3 separate regions of the Homo sapiens genome follow, and regions 1 and 2 are each linked to region 3. Evidence: promoter capture Hi-C in 16 types of primary human blood cells and fetal thymus (Javierre and others, 2016). All regions are on one chromosome and are shown on one strand. The core of a region is centred on a gene start or on the middle of the fragment in contact, and the rest is flanking DNA. Distances in the headings are between cores, read along the strand shown.

Region 1 (4,149 bases), core at 1,097-3,596, 90 kb after region 3:
TGATGTAGTTATGTTCCCCAGGAAGCAGACTCTCAAACAAAGATTACTGTGGAGGATGTTTACTAAGGAGCGTTCTTGGAGTTAACACCTGTGCAAGAGAGAGGATGAAAATAGGATTGGGCAAAAGGAGAAGCTGAGTAGTAATTCAGTCCCAGCAAAGACCTCAGTCAACCATATGAAGGGTTCTAGGGGTGTGAGCATCTTTCAGAGTTGTCCACCACTGGGTTGAGGGGATTAAACTTTTATACCTCTGTGCTGATCGGTCATTGGATATAGAATGCCCAAGAAAGGGAGCATAACCTTGGATGAGCTGGCTTTCTTCTGCTTAGGCAACTCCTGAAGGGTTATGACAGCTGAGGGCCATCTTTTAGGAGCACTCTCCACAGCTGGAAAATAAATCCTCCATTTTTGAAGAGGGTTCTGGGCTTTGCATCACAGCATCCAGCGCAGGGGTGAAGGAGCATAGGGGAGTAAGGCATCAATAATAATTCCTAAATTTCTGATTTGTACATCCTGGTGGGTGCACTTAACGACCATATATTACAATCATTGGCTTGCTTGGGAAAATCCCACTAGAGTAGGTGCTACTGAGGGGCAAACTATATTGGACAACTAGTGCATACCCCTAGAACTGGCATAGTTTGCTAAATAAGTGAATGTCCATCTATTTCTATTTTCACTCCCCTCTCCCTTACATCCTTTGCTCCCTTCCCTCCTCATCGTACTGTCATCCAATGTGGGAAAACTTGAGCAGGTTATCTGAGGCCCCACCTGTGCTGGAGCGGAACAAATAGCAAATCAAGCTCCTCTGGTCCAGGCTCTCTGATGGGCAAGACAGGCAGTACCAGGAGGAAGGAAAGGGGGAGCAGTTGATGACATCTCAGGCATAAACTGTCTTTCAACTCTCTTTCAATGCTTCAGCCCCTATAAACTCAGGGCTGGCTGAACCAGGTCCTCTCCAAAAGATTAATTGGATAAGGGCCTGCTGAATCCCCCATAAAGCCAGACTCCATTCTCTAATTTGCTCTTCCACTGATGCCCGCCCCCAACCTCTTACAGCTACTGCTGGGGGTCAGAAGAATTTCACATCGTATTGGAGTTCATCCGGAATCTGAAGAATGGATAGGAATCTGGAGATAGGAATCTGGAGATAGGAATCTGGGGAAGAAAAGGAATGGATAGGAGAATGCATAGGGAGCAGGGCTGAAATAGTAGAAGAGGCAAATCCTGCCCCGAGAAGCTGAACCCAGTTCAGTCCTGCACCCTTCAGCCCTGTTCCCGCTGCACCGCAGTGACCCAGTCCCCTTCTAGCCCCCTCTCGTGGGAACCTGACACCCTACACAGGCAGCTCTGCCTGCACTGAGAGCAAACAGGGAGCGTTAGCGTGTCGGGTGGGCGTGGGCGCTGCCTGGAGACGGTGGAGAAAGCCAACCTTCTCCTTCTCTTTTGCCTGCGCTGGGCCGGCGTTAGAATTATATCCCATCCTCACCTTACTCTGGTTTATCCTTGTCAGTGCTTGCCACCACCCCCAACTGCCCTCAACACTCAAGTCAGAAGCTTCCTCCCGGGAGCCCTTTTCCCTGGCAAGGCTTCCCTGGAGCCAAATCTCGGCCCCGGCCCCACCCCCACTCCCGCCCAGCTGTGGAGGGCTCCTTGGGACCCTTAAGTGCAAGCCTGAGTGTTAAGCCTCAGACAGGAGATGGAGGGTGCGGAGACAGATGCAGGAGCTACCCCAGGCCCGCAGCGAGGAGCTGCAGGGAACTACGGTAGCAATAGTGTCACGGTCACTGCGGCCACTGCAACACAGTACGGTAAATGCGGCTCTAGGCTCAGACTAAAGCATCCGCGCCTCAGCAGGTGACGCACGCAGACCTGGTCTCCAACGCCACCTCCACGTTCCCTGATACACCAGAGAAAGATGCTGGATCCGTGGCAGCCGTCTCTACCCAACCCCTCCTACCCTCCCTTCCCCGAAACCTCCCCCTACGCTGCCAATACTCTTGTCTTCAATCTCTCTCTCTCTCTCTCTCTCTCTCTCTCTCTCTCTCTCTCTCTCTCATTCCTGGGAATCGGGGGTGGGGGCGGGTGATAAAGAGAGGTGGGCAGGAGAGAAATCTCTAAGAGGAGACGGGACACATCTAGGGAGGGGGCGAGCCTGGAGGACAGTCGCACAGGGAGGGGCAGAACTCCCGAGCCAGGGAGGGGGTGCACAGTCACCTGGCGGGACAGAGGCTGGCGGAGGGACGGGAACCCAGGCGGGGCGAGCCGCGGGAGAGTGGAGGGCAGGCGCCTGGGCTGGGGGCGGGGACCAGGCGGGGCAGGGGGCAGGGAGAGGAGGGCGGCGGGAGCCTGAGCCGGAATCGCAGCGTGAGCAGGTGGAGCCGCGTTGGGAGCCCGCCGGGTCGAGCTGAGTAAGGCGGCGGGCTCGGCGGGGGCCATGGAGCTGCTAAAGCTGAACCGGAGCGTGCAGGGAACCGGACCCGGGCCGGGGGCTTCCCTGTGCCGCCCGGGGGCGCCTCTCCTCAACAGCAGCAGTGTGGGCAACCTCAGCTGCGAGCCCCCTCGCATTCGCGGAGCCGGGACACGAGGTGGGTGCCTCCCTCAGCCCCCCCCACAAGCTATTTCTCACTGTACCCCAGAACACTAATAGAGTCCCCCCAACGAGCTCCACACTACCTTCTCAAACGTCCACACCGTGCCTCTCATAGTACTCCCTCAGCCCCCAAACAGCTCCCCTCACACCTTCACCCCCACAGCCTACAACTTCATCACAGCTTCACACCACCTGGTCGGAACTCCTTCACATCCTGGTCCCCTGAATACACCTAGAGCCCCTGCTCACCCCAAAGCACAGCCCCTTCCCCAACACGCAGCCCCTCCTAGACACCAGTCAGAAGGCGAGGACCTCCTCTTGCCAACCCTGCAGATCTCCTTTTCCCTCTTACATCCAGTTCACAGAGCCACAACAGAGAAGGGAAGGAAGAAAGGAAGGCAGGACTGGGAAAAGAAGGGGGCTGGTTGAGGGAGGGAGCACTCTGGAAAGCTTGAATGCGAAGCTGAAGTTGTGATCACATCTGACACCCCAGCCCCCAGCCATCCCAAAAAAGATCCTCAAATCTGAATTAGGCTGGACACTAGGGGATGCTCCTTAGAGCTGCCTGCCTCCATTTCACTCCTTCTCAAACCCCTCTGCCTCCCTAGTTGGAGCTTTCGAGGCTCTGTGCCCTCTCTCTTTGTCTGCAAGTAATGTCTCCAGCTATCTTCCAAGCTCTCTCTCCAGCCCTAGGCTAGGTGCTGGGGGCACAGGGCAAACTAGACCCAGTCTGGACCCTCATGGCCCATAGCCAAGTGCAGAGAGAAACCAAGCAAATGGAAAAATCACAGACACAATGGAAGTCCCATGAAAGGGTCTAAACTGTGGGCACCAAAAGAACTTCACAGAGGCTAGAACCTTAGAGCTGGGTCTTGAAGTTGAGTAGGCAGAAAAGGAAGGAGTGGGATTCTAGGTGAAGGAGCAATGTTAAGCAGAAGGAAATTTTTCTAAACTCAAAAAGGGAAAGTTGGAATAAATTGTAATCCAAGTATTTATTTACCCCACGAAATAATCTATGCTTTCTCAGCCGAGTTGTTACACACTCACACTTGGATTCTGTCATTCAGCCAATATTTATTGAACCAGAGATTGTGCTAGGCAGTGGGAATGTAAGTTGAACAAAACCGACACAATTCCTACTTCACAGAGCTCAAAGTTTAATGGGCGAGACAGAAAAGCAGGGGATTGCAGCACAAAGTGGAAGAGCCTTGACAGGGAAAAGATAGTGGGAACACAAGTGGAACACCTCTAGCCCAGCCCAGCCTCCTTGAGAATTAAAGTTGGCCTCTTGAGGAAATGAGCTACAAAGTCAAAAAAATTAGGGAGGCTGGCTCTAAGCTTCCTGTTGGCAAAAAAAAAAAAAAAAAAAAATATATATACACACACACACACACACACACACACACACACACACATATACATATGGGAGAGCCAGCCAAGTGAACGGGCAGAAGAGGCAGAAAGCATCCCAAATAAAAGGACAAGATGTATAAGAAGCTCAAAGTTTGAATTCATGGCACTTTTATCCACTGTGACATAGTTTTGAGTGACTAGAA
Region 2 (4,174 bases), core at 1,008-3,507, 110 kb before region 3:
TGTTATGATTTTGACCCCTATTTAATTCCTTGTGGACATTCGCTACTGCTAAGAGTGTGAATGGGCTAGCGAGAAATCTGCACTTTTAATCTCTGACAGCACTACTGAGCTTCTTCCTCTCAAAAACGTACCCTGTCTCCTCCAGGTGGAGAAGGATCTAATTCTAGAATGGGAGATCTGTTCCCCTAGTCCTACATAGAAAATGACACTAAAAATTATTAAAAGGAAAAACTGAGCACTCACTGCAGAGGTATCAATTTTGTGTATTCATTGACTATAATATTTCTTATCACAAATAATTATTGAGGGTGTATATTGTGTTGAAAAATGACAGGCACTTGGTAATGAGAAGTACATGGAAGACAAAAGAATCCTGCCTCCCTGAAGCCTACAATCTAGCATGAAAGATATACACAGCACAAGTAATATCACAAATTTTGCTAGAATTGTAATCATTCCAATTCAAGACATTGGATTGCAAACACTGTTTACTTCCTCTCTCTCTCCCAGTGTACCCATTAAATTGCTAAAGAAATATAAAAATGAAAATAATGCAATAACAATATAGAATATGAGCAAATATACTTGGATTGCATCATATACTTTGAGAAATTTTTGGAATTCATAAATCAGACTAAATTGGATTCATAGAAAAACTGGGACCCAAAAACCTGCAAACCAATGTGTAGTTATGTATATGTGGAGGGTGGGAACTATAGGGGAAGAGGAATTGGAAAAGTTAAAGCTTGATGCAGGGCTGGGAAATGTTCTCATTAAGAGATTCAGGGTGCAAACCTCATCATTACACAATATATCCCTGTACCAAACCTGCATATGTAACCCCTGAATCTATTTTTAAAATCTAAAAATTTTAAGAGATCCCAAGGGATACTCCAAGTTTAAAATCAATAAAATGATAACAGTAATTGAAAGCAATTAATTAGTGCATTGATTAATTTATTGTTATTCTACTTCCAGCAATTGGATCAGTTTAGTATGAAACCTGGCTCCCTATAAAATGCAAGAGGCAACTTTGTATCTTCAAACCCTATAATTGCAGTGGGGCAGATGTAATCAGAGGCAATTACAAGGTAACTTTGGTTCTCCAAGTTACAAATAGAGAAAAGGTATGGAGAGGCAGCTCCACAGGTCAGCAAACTATACCAGATTATCTCTGATTGCAGATATAAAAGCTTCTCTACTTCAGCAAAAGATGAGGGAATGCAGCTCATCTTTCATTTTCCTCTTGACAGCCTGAGGAGAATTCTGTCTGTTAGCAAATCCGTGTACAATGACCTACAAAGTCCTACAATTGGGGCACAAGAGCAGTGACCTTTACAGGCTCTGAGAAAACTCACAGCGAGGACCCAACCATTTAATTCTCATCTACAAACAAATAAGAGTAAAAATCTACAAATAATTGAGAAAAAACTAGTATCGTGAAGAAAGGACCAGGCTGAACAAGCGGAGAAACTCATCCCTTAAAGAAAAGAGTAAATGCAAGAAAAAAGTCATTTATAATATGCATAATAAATATTTTAGAAATGTCCTAATTTATGCATTTTGATGTGGCAGAAAAGTAAAGGAATCTAAGTCATCCTAAAAGACACGAAAAGGTTCATCTAAAGGGTTAACACTAGCATTTAGCTGAATGGCTGTACCATGTAAATGTGCTGCCAGCACAAACTTAGAGGTTTGGAAGACACTCTAAACCTAAAACCAAGCTGAGGGTGGGACTTCCCATTGCCATTCCAGAGAATGTTGCATAGTCTATCACTGGGCAATGGCAGGAAAGATGACACATCCAGAGCTGTCATCCATTTCTACTGTCCTCAAGTCTCTCTGACACAGGAGTAGGAAAATGTTGGAATCAGGAGCAAAAGAAAGAATGGAAAAACTATTCACAAATTCAGGTATCCAGATACATCCCAATAAGCTGTGAAGCCAGGTGCCTCTGGATATTCTTTGCTGTGATATGTGACACTAGAAGGACTGCTCGCTGTGAAAATTACCCCATCCATATAATCTGCACCAGCCATGAGTTCCTGGCTATGTCCTGGCAGGTGCCTCTGAAGGAAACAGTGAGAATATATTCAGGTCAATCCTTTAGTGTAAACACCCTGAGCACTCACTGGTGGATCTTCTGGGTCTTCACCCCATAGACAAGAGGATTGAGTGCAGGTGGCACAAGGCGATACAGTATGGCCAGAAGAACATGGACGTGATGGGGTACATGATGACCAAAGCGGTGAGTGAGGAAGGAGAACATTCCCGGGATATAGAAGACCAGGATGACACAAACATGAGAGCCACATGTGCTAAACGCCTTAAGTCGGGCCTCATTTCCTGGTACCTTCAGCACTGCCTGGAGAATGTGGGCATAGGAAACACCAATGGCCAGGACATCCAGCCCAACCACAAGCAAGGCCACAGTCAGCCCATAAGCTCGATTGACTGTGGTTTCTGAGCAGGCAAGTTTCACAACAGCCATATGTTCACAATAGGCATGGCCTATGATGGTGGCTTGGCAGAAGATAAGTTTTCGCAACAGAATGAGGAAGGGGATGAGGAGTAGTAATCCCCGCACCAGCACCACCATTCCGATGTGCCCTATGACCCCTGGATGCAGGATCGTGGAATGGTGCAAGGGGTGACAAATGGCTACATAGCGATCCAGAGCCATGGCCACAAGTACCCCTGACTCCATGGAGGAGAATGCATGGGTGAAGAACATCTGGATCAGGCAGACAGTGTAACCAATCTCTTGGGCACGAACCAGGAGCACTGCAAGGGCTTTGGGTGCAGTGGAGGAGGCCACAACCAGGTCGATGGCAGCTAGCATGGACAGGAAGAGGTACATAGGTTGGTGCAAGGATGGGTCCATCCAGATGATGAAGAGAATGGTAACATTGCCCACTAGAGCAAGGAGGTAAAGGATGCCCAGGGGCAGTGCGATCCAGTGCTGGCTTTCCTCTAAACCCGGAATTCCTACCAGGAAAAAAGAAGGCTGGGGTAGCCTCCAGCTGGAATTGCTAAGCGCCATTATCAATGACTTGAGGAGGAAAGAGAAAAAAGAATCCAAATTCATGATTTCTGCATTTCTGGTACATTATCACATAGTCCAGATCACATTGTCTACCATCTTCATGAGAAGAATAAAGTGACTAAAACTGCAACCAAAGGGAATAAAGTTAGATACAAGAAAGAAAATCTTTGGTGGAGATAAATTTTTTTACAGGTGAGACATCCACATGTCTGAATTAGAATAGGTCTAGTTTTTTTAGAGATAAGAGTAAACATACACTGTTTTGGGAGAGATGCATAAGCTTTAACCATTCAGTTGCTTATGTTTTGAAGCTGCCAACTTCAAAGGGTTCTCTTTATTAGCCTCTTGGCGTTACTGAACACAGTAAATTAAACTGTTGTTTTTGAAATTAGCCTCCCTCAGTTTCCGTGAAGTGGCACTCTAGAGTTGTTTCTCCTATAGCCTCAGTCCCACCATTTTCTCCATCTCATTATGTTGTTGATTCCAGGGATCCATCCTCTCCTCTTTTCCCTATTCAGTACATTATCTCTGAATTGACCTCATCCACTTTCATAGTTTTATCTATCTACTTTTATTTCTTTCAAATCTGTGTTTCTAAGTCAAATATCTTTCTGAAACACAAATCATTCTTTCCATTTGCTTCCTGAATAGCTATACTATAGCCTCAACATATTCAAAACTAAATTAATTCATCTATCCTTCTTAAATCTGTCCTACCTACCTTTGGCAATATTTTTATGAATTACATTACTATCCATCTACCAAACCCAATCTAGAAACTCGGAAACTATCTTTACTTATTCTTATCTCTCATCCCTTTTCCCCATTCGCCAATTCCTGTTAACTGCATTTTTAACACATAGCTGTTATATCCACTCCTGTTTTCAACCCCCGATGTCAAACATCCAACTTCTCTCACCTGTACTGTTTCATTACATCTCTCTGCCTTTGCTGTAAACATCTTCCCAATTCACTCTCAACCTTAAAGTCAGGTTTTTCCTAAAATGCAGATGTCGTTATGTCGTGCCTATGGCTAAAATCCTTCAGTGAATCTATTGCATGGAATAAAATCATACTCTTAAGACTGCATTAAAGGTTTTCAAGGGTTATCTATTGTGTATTACTTTG
Region 3 (4,490 bases), core at 846-3,345:
GGCTAAAGAAATGAGTGTACATGACCTTTTCTGGAAAAGCATAAAAGAATAAGAGTTGAGACTGTGAATCCCAAGAGAGTACTCCAATTTTGCCAACCTGGCCATGAACAATGTACTATAATTCCTAATTCTGGGTCTGGTCAAAAACTAGATATAAGAGAGAATCAAGAGTACCCTGTTTCCTCCTACTTTGTCTTTTCGCTGGTCCCTGAGTTACAGCAGAGAGAAGTACTGCAAATCAGCAGTTGATTTGGCTCAATTATGCCAAACTGCCTTCATGAGGAGCTGATTTACTAATCACTGGTTTTGTGAAATAATTTAGCTGGTCATTTCAGTGTACCATAGAGATGCCTGTTCTGATCTCAAGGAGATAATTGCGCTCCCATTCATTTTTCAAAAATGTAGTATGTGTCAGGCATTTTGTAATGCATTGGGGATACAAATATGAATAATATACACTCTTCTGATTTCAAGGAGTTTGCAGTCAATTGAGGGTACAAATAAATGAACAACTCATTACATTACAATTTATTATGCACATTTGGAGATTTGTACAAGATACACTAGACATGCAAACATAGGACCCTTGGCTTGCCTGGAGAAATTAGAAAAGACTCAACTTTTCTTGAACTAAAATTTGAAGGAAAGGAAGTTTTTCCAGATGACCAAAGGTCATGCATGGCTGTTCCTCAAACTCACCTGCCATTGTGGTAGTGGGTGGCAGGCCACTTGATTCTGTACAAAGAATCAATGCACATTTGGGATTTTTTTAAAAAATTAAAACCCCTTAAAATGGTAAATATAAAATTATTTTTATCCACTTCTTTATAACCTCATTTCATGTGGTGTTCAGATCCCTGCGCTTCTGGCGTCTATCTAGTCTACTGAGGGTACCAAAGCCTCATATCAGAGGCATGTACACTTAGTTATTATTTCTGGGTTGTAGGGAGGAATATGTAAAGAGGTTAGAGAAAACAAACAAGAGAAGGAGGAAGAATTATGAGAAAAGAAAGAAAAGTTGGGGGCGGAAGATGAAATAGAAAGAAGAGGAAGAAAAGCCTTCTCAGTCCAGGAAATCTCTGTATTTCACATCTAGCTTCCTTGAAGGAGCTGGACATGAAGATTCATGAGCCCAGAGGGGAGGTACAGCACCAAGTCTTGATGTCAAAGAACCGGTGGGCTACACCCTCACGTATCTGCTTAGTCTTCACACCATAGACAATGGGGTTCAGCATTGGTGGCACTGCCACATAAAGATTGGCCAGCAAGATATGGACATGTTGAGGAATATTACGCCCAAAATGATGGGTCAATAAGGTAAAGAAGGATGGAACATAAAACATAAGGATGACACAGAGGTGGGAGCCACAAGTGCTGAGGGCCTTGTGCCGAGCATCCTGGGAGGGCAAACGAAACACTGCTCGGAGGATCAGTGAGTAAGACACAGCGATGAGGATAACATCCAAGATGACCATGACAATGGGCACTGAGAAGCCATACCAAATGTTAACAGTGATGTCAGCACAGGCTAAACGAGCCACTCCAATATGCTCACAGTAGGAGTGAGGAACAATGTTGGTTAGGCAGAAGGGCAGCCGCTTCAGCAAGAATATGACTGGGAAGATGATGCAGAAGCTTCGGGTGATGACGGCCAGAGCAATCCTCCCCACAACAGGCCATGTTAGCACTGTTGTATATCTCAGTGGGGCACAAATGGCCACAAAGCGATCAAAGGCCATGGCTAACAGGATAGCTGACTCCCCCACAAACATCATATGGACAAAGAAGCCTTGGGTGACACAGGCATCAAAAGCAATGTTATGTGCTTGAAGCCAAAAGATGGCTAGGGCCTTGGGCACAGTGGTGGTAGACAGCAGGATGTCCATGACGGCCAGCATTGAGAGGAAGAAATACATGGGCACATGAAGGTTACGTTCCATGACAATAACCACTATCAGGATGCTGTTTCCCAGGACTGCAGTGATGTAAATGAGGCAAAGAGGTATTGACAGCCAAATGTGATAAGCCTCCAACCCAGGGATGCCAGGAAGGACAAAAACTGCAGGATGGAAGATGGTAACATTGGTGTGACTCATGATGCACTTTATGGTCCTCTCTATAATGACTTAGAAGCTGATGAGTCTACTGAAAGTGATAGAAACAGAAAGCACTCCCGAATATGTATAAATATCATAAAAGACAGCATGGATTTCTAAATTGCTGGACTCTCCAGCAGCAAGTACTCCCAGAGAATGTTCACTTGGTATAGGAATGGCTTCTGGCCCATAGTGCTTCCTTTGCAGATAGAGCTTCTGTGGCAATAATGCTTCAAGTATGAACAGAAGTGGCAGCACCTTCCTGCAACCACCCTGCCCCCAGAGTTTGGCCTCACTCTCCCTTTCTGACCTCATTCTACTATTTCCACACAAGCAGCATTTTCCACCTACCTGTGTTGTACTTGTCCCTTTCCCCAAGATTTTGTTCTGCATTTACCTTTAATTTCCCTCCCCTTCTACTTCTGTTTAACAAAATTTTAACCTTAAAATAAGTCCTCAAGACATACCACTTTGTAATGGTCTGTGTTCATAGCAATATATCTCCTTCCTAAAAAACTATTAACTAAACTATATTTTAACTGGGTTATATTTAATCCTATTAAGTTTATCTGGCTATTGCCTTGAACATTTCACAGGACACTTGCACCTCTGGCCCCTTGTGCAAGGGAGTAGAGTATCAAGTGGGAATCCAGAGGAAGCCTAGAGGGGTACATTTCTCCACTCTGATCCAGATTCATATCTTCCCTAATGCAGTGAGCAATGGGGCAGCCAATGAAACTGAGACAGGCAATTTTCATCACCAGCTCCTCATGGACTTCTCATGCTCCTCCTCAAATATTTCTATACAGGAGCCTCTTGGTTATGTCTGGGCTTCCTTATCTGTAGAAGCCCCCCAGGAAAACGATTCTGAGCAAAAGAAATCAATCTATTGCCCACCTGTAAACTCTGCTGACTCCACTAATACTGCCCTTCTTCCCACCCCACTGTTCCCCAACGCTCAGAAGGAACCATGTTTCCCTGCTGCCAAGAAGGATTAAGTATAGAGCCCTTCTTGGCTTGCCTGCCACTCAGGTAATATTTGTTTCATTCTGAAGTTCTGAACTATCTGTCAGCTATTAGGACTAGGGAAAGAGTGTATGATTAAGAATCTAGAAGGGAACATGAAGAAAAGGGACCACAGAGACAGTAAAGAGAGAATCAGAACTATAAAGGTACCAAATAAACACTAGACTGATCTTCTGATAATGGTATTCAGAGGGCCCCAAAGAAGAGATGCAAAGGAATCAAATCCTCAGTTTATTAGTCCATCCCTCTGCCTCTATGCAAATGAACTTTCTCAGAGCACAGTGGGCTGTGGGGAGGGAGCAATGGGACTCCAGATGGGTACAAGGAAGGGAATAGAGCCAGATCCAGACAAGTAAAGGCCGCAGGCAGGCTAATAATCTGACAGCATTCAAGTCAGTATATTTTAAATATTTGGGCCAGGCACAGTGTCTCATGCCTATAATCCCAGAAGTTTGGGAGGCCAAGATGGGAGGATCGCTTGAGGCCAGGTATTCAAGACCTGCCTAGGTAACATAACAAGACCCTGTCGCTACAAAACAATTTAAAAATTAGCCGGGAATGGTGGCACGCACCTGTAGTCCCAGCTACTTGGAGGCGGAGGCAGGAGGATCTCTTGAGCCCAGGAGTTTGGGGCTGCAGTGAATGAGCTATGATGGCACCACTGCACTCCAGCCTAGGTGATGGAGCAAGACTCTGTCTCTTTAAAATATATATATATACATATATGTATATATATAAAATACATATTATATGTACACATATATGTATATATATATGTGCGTGTGTATATATGTATGTTCAACTTCTACTTAGAAGAGAGGCTGAGCTTTGCTGGAATGAGCACAGAGAAGAAGTCATTAGTAGCACTGCTCTGGCTCTATTTTAAAGTATTGAACTCAAATTTATACAAGCAAAAGCCCCAGCAAAAAAAACAAATTCATTTTCCTTAGGAGGAAATTTATTGGACATTTATTTTCTCACAACTTTCCCAACCCCTCCAGTTATTAACATACTCCTTCTCAATAAAACAGTAAGACACCTGATATACGTCCTCATCAAAACAAGTCTGCTCTCTGCTTATGACTCTGTGATGTTTTATCACTCCAACAGTGAGTACCAAAGGCAGGGTGGAGAGAGGGGCAATGAGGCCTAGATGGCTGTTAATGAGGTCCTGGAAAGGAGGTTACTGCCCATGGAAAGAAGGACTTTCATTTTATCCAGTGGCGTCTTAGAGCTCCATCAAAGCCCTGCTGCTCCTCTGTCAAGCACCTTTGGAGCGTTCGAGCCTCATTTAGGAAAGAGTTAAGGGTGAGAAGAAAGGAAACTCACAGGCAAAAAGAGGAATATCCAACGTCTCCCAGAAGTACC

Evidence for each region. The method cuts DNA at HindIII sites, captures the fragments that hold promoters and counts their contacts. A CHiCAGO score of 5 or more calls a contact.
Region 1: a contact is called between the fragment with the promoter of CCKBR here and the fragment with the promoter of OR52B2 in region 3, in 1 of 17 cell types (monocytes). The highest score is 5.2, in monocytes.
Region 2: a contact is called between a fragment that was not itself captured here and the fragment with the promoter of OR52B2 in region 3, in 3 of 17 cell types (monocytes, M2 macrophages and M1 macrophages). The highest score is 6.4, in monocytes.

Annotation. Positions count from the first base shown.
Region 1 is chr11:6,257,492-6,261,640 of GRCh38, forward strand. CCKBR (cholecystokinin B receptor) reads left to right here and starts at 2,347. Exons shown (of 5, transcript NM_176875.4): 1 at 2,347-2,588. The coding sequence starts at 2,438. The HindIII fragment of the contact is 1,486 bases long and covers 1,556-3,041 here.
Region 2 is chr11:6,055,188-6,059,361 of GRCh38, forward strand. It overlaps the pseudogene OR52L2P. Among named protein-coding and RNA genes, the nearest start is that of OR56A1, 27 kb to the left of the region's middle. The HindIII fragment of the contact is 2,133 bases long and covers 1,192-3,324 here.
Region 3 is chr11:6,168,231-6,172,720 of GRCh38, forward strand. OR52B2 (olfactory receptor family 52 subfamily B member 2) reads right to left here and starts at 2,096. Exons shown (of 1, transcript NM_001004052.1): 1 at 1,125-2,096. The coding sequence starts at 2,096. The coding sequence ends at 1,125. The HindIII fragment of the contact is 5,039 bases long and covers 1,634-4,490 here.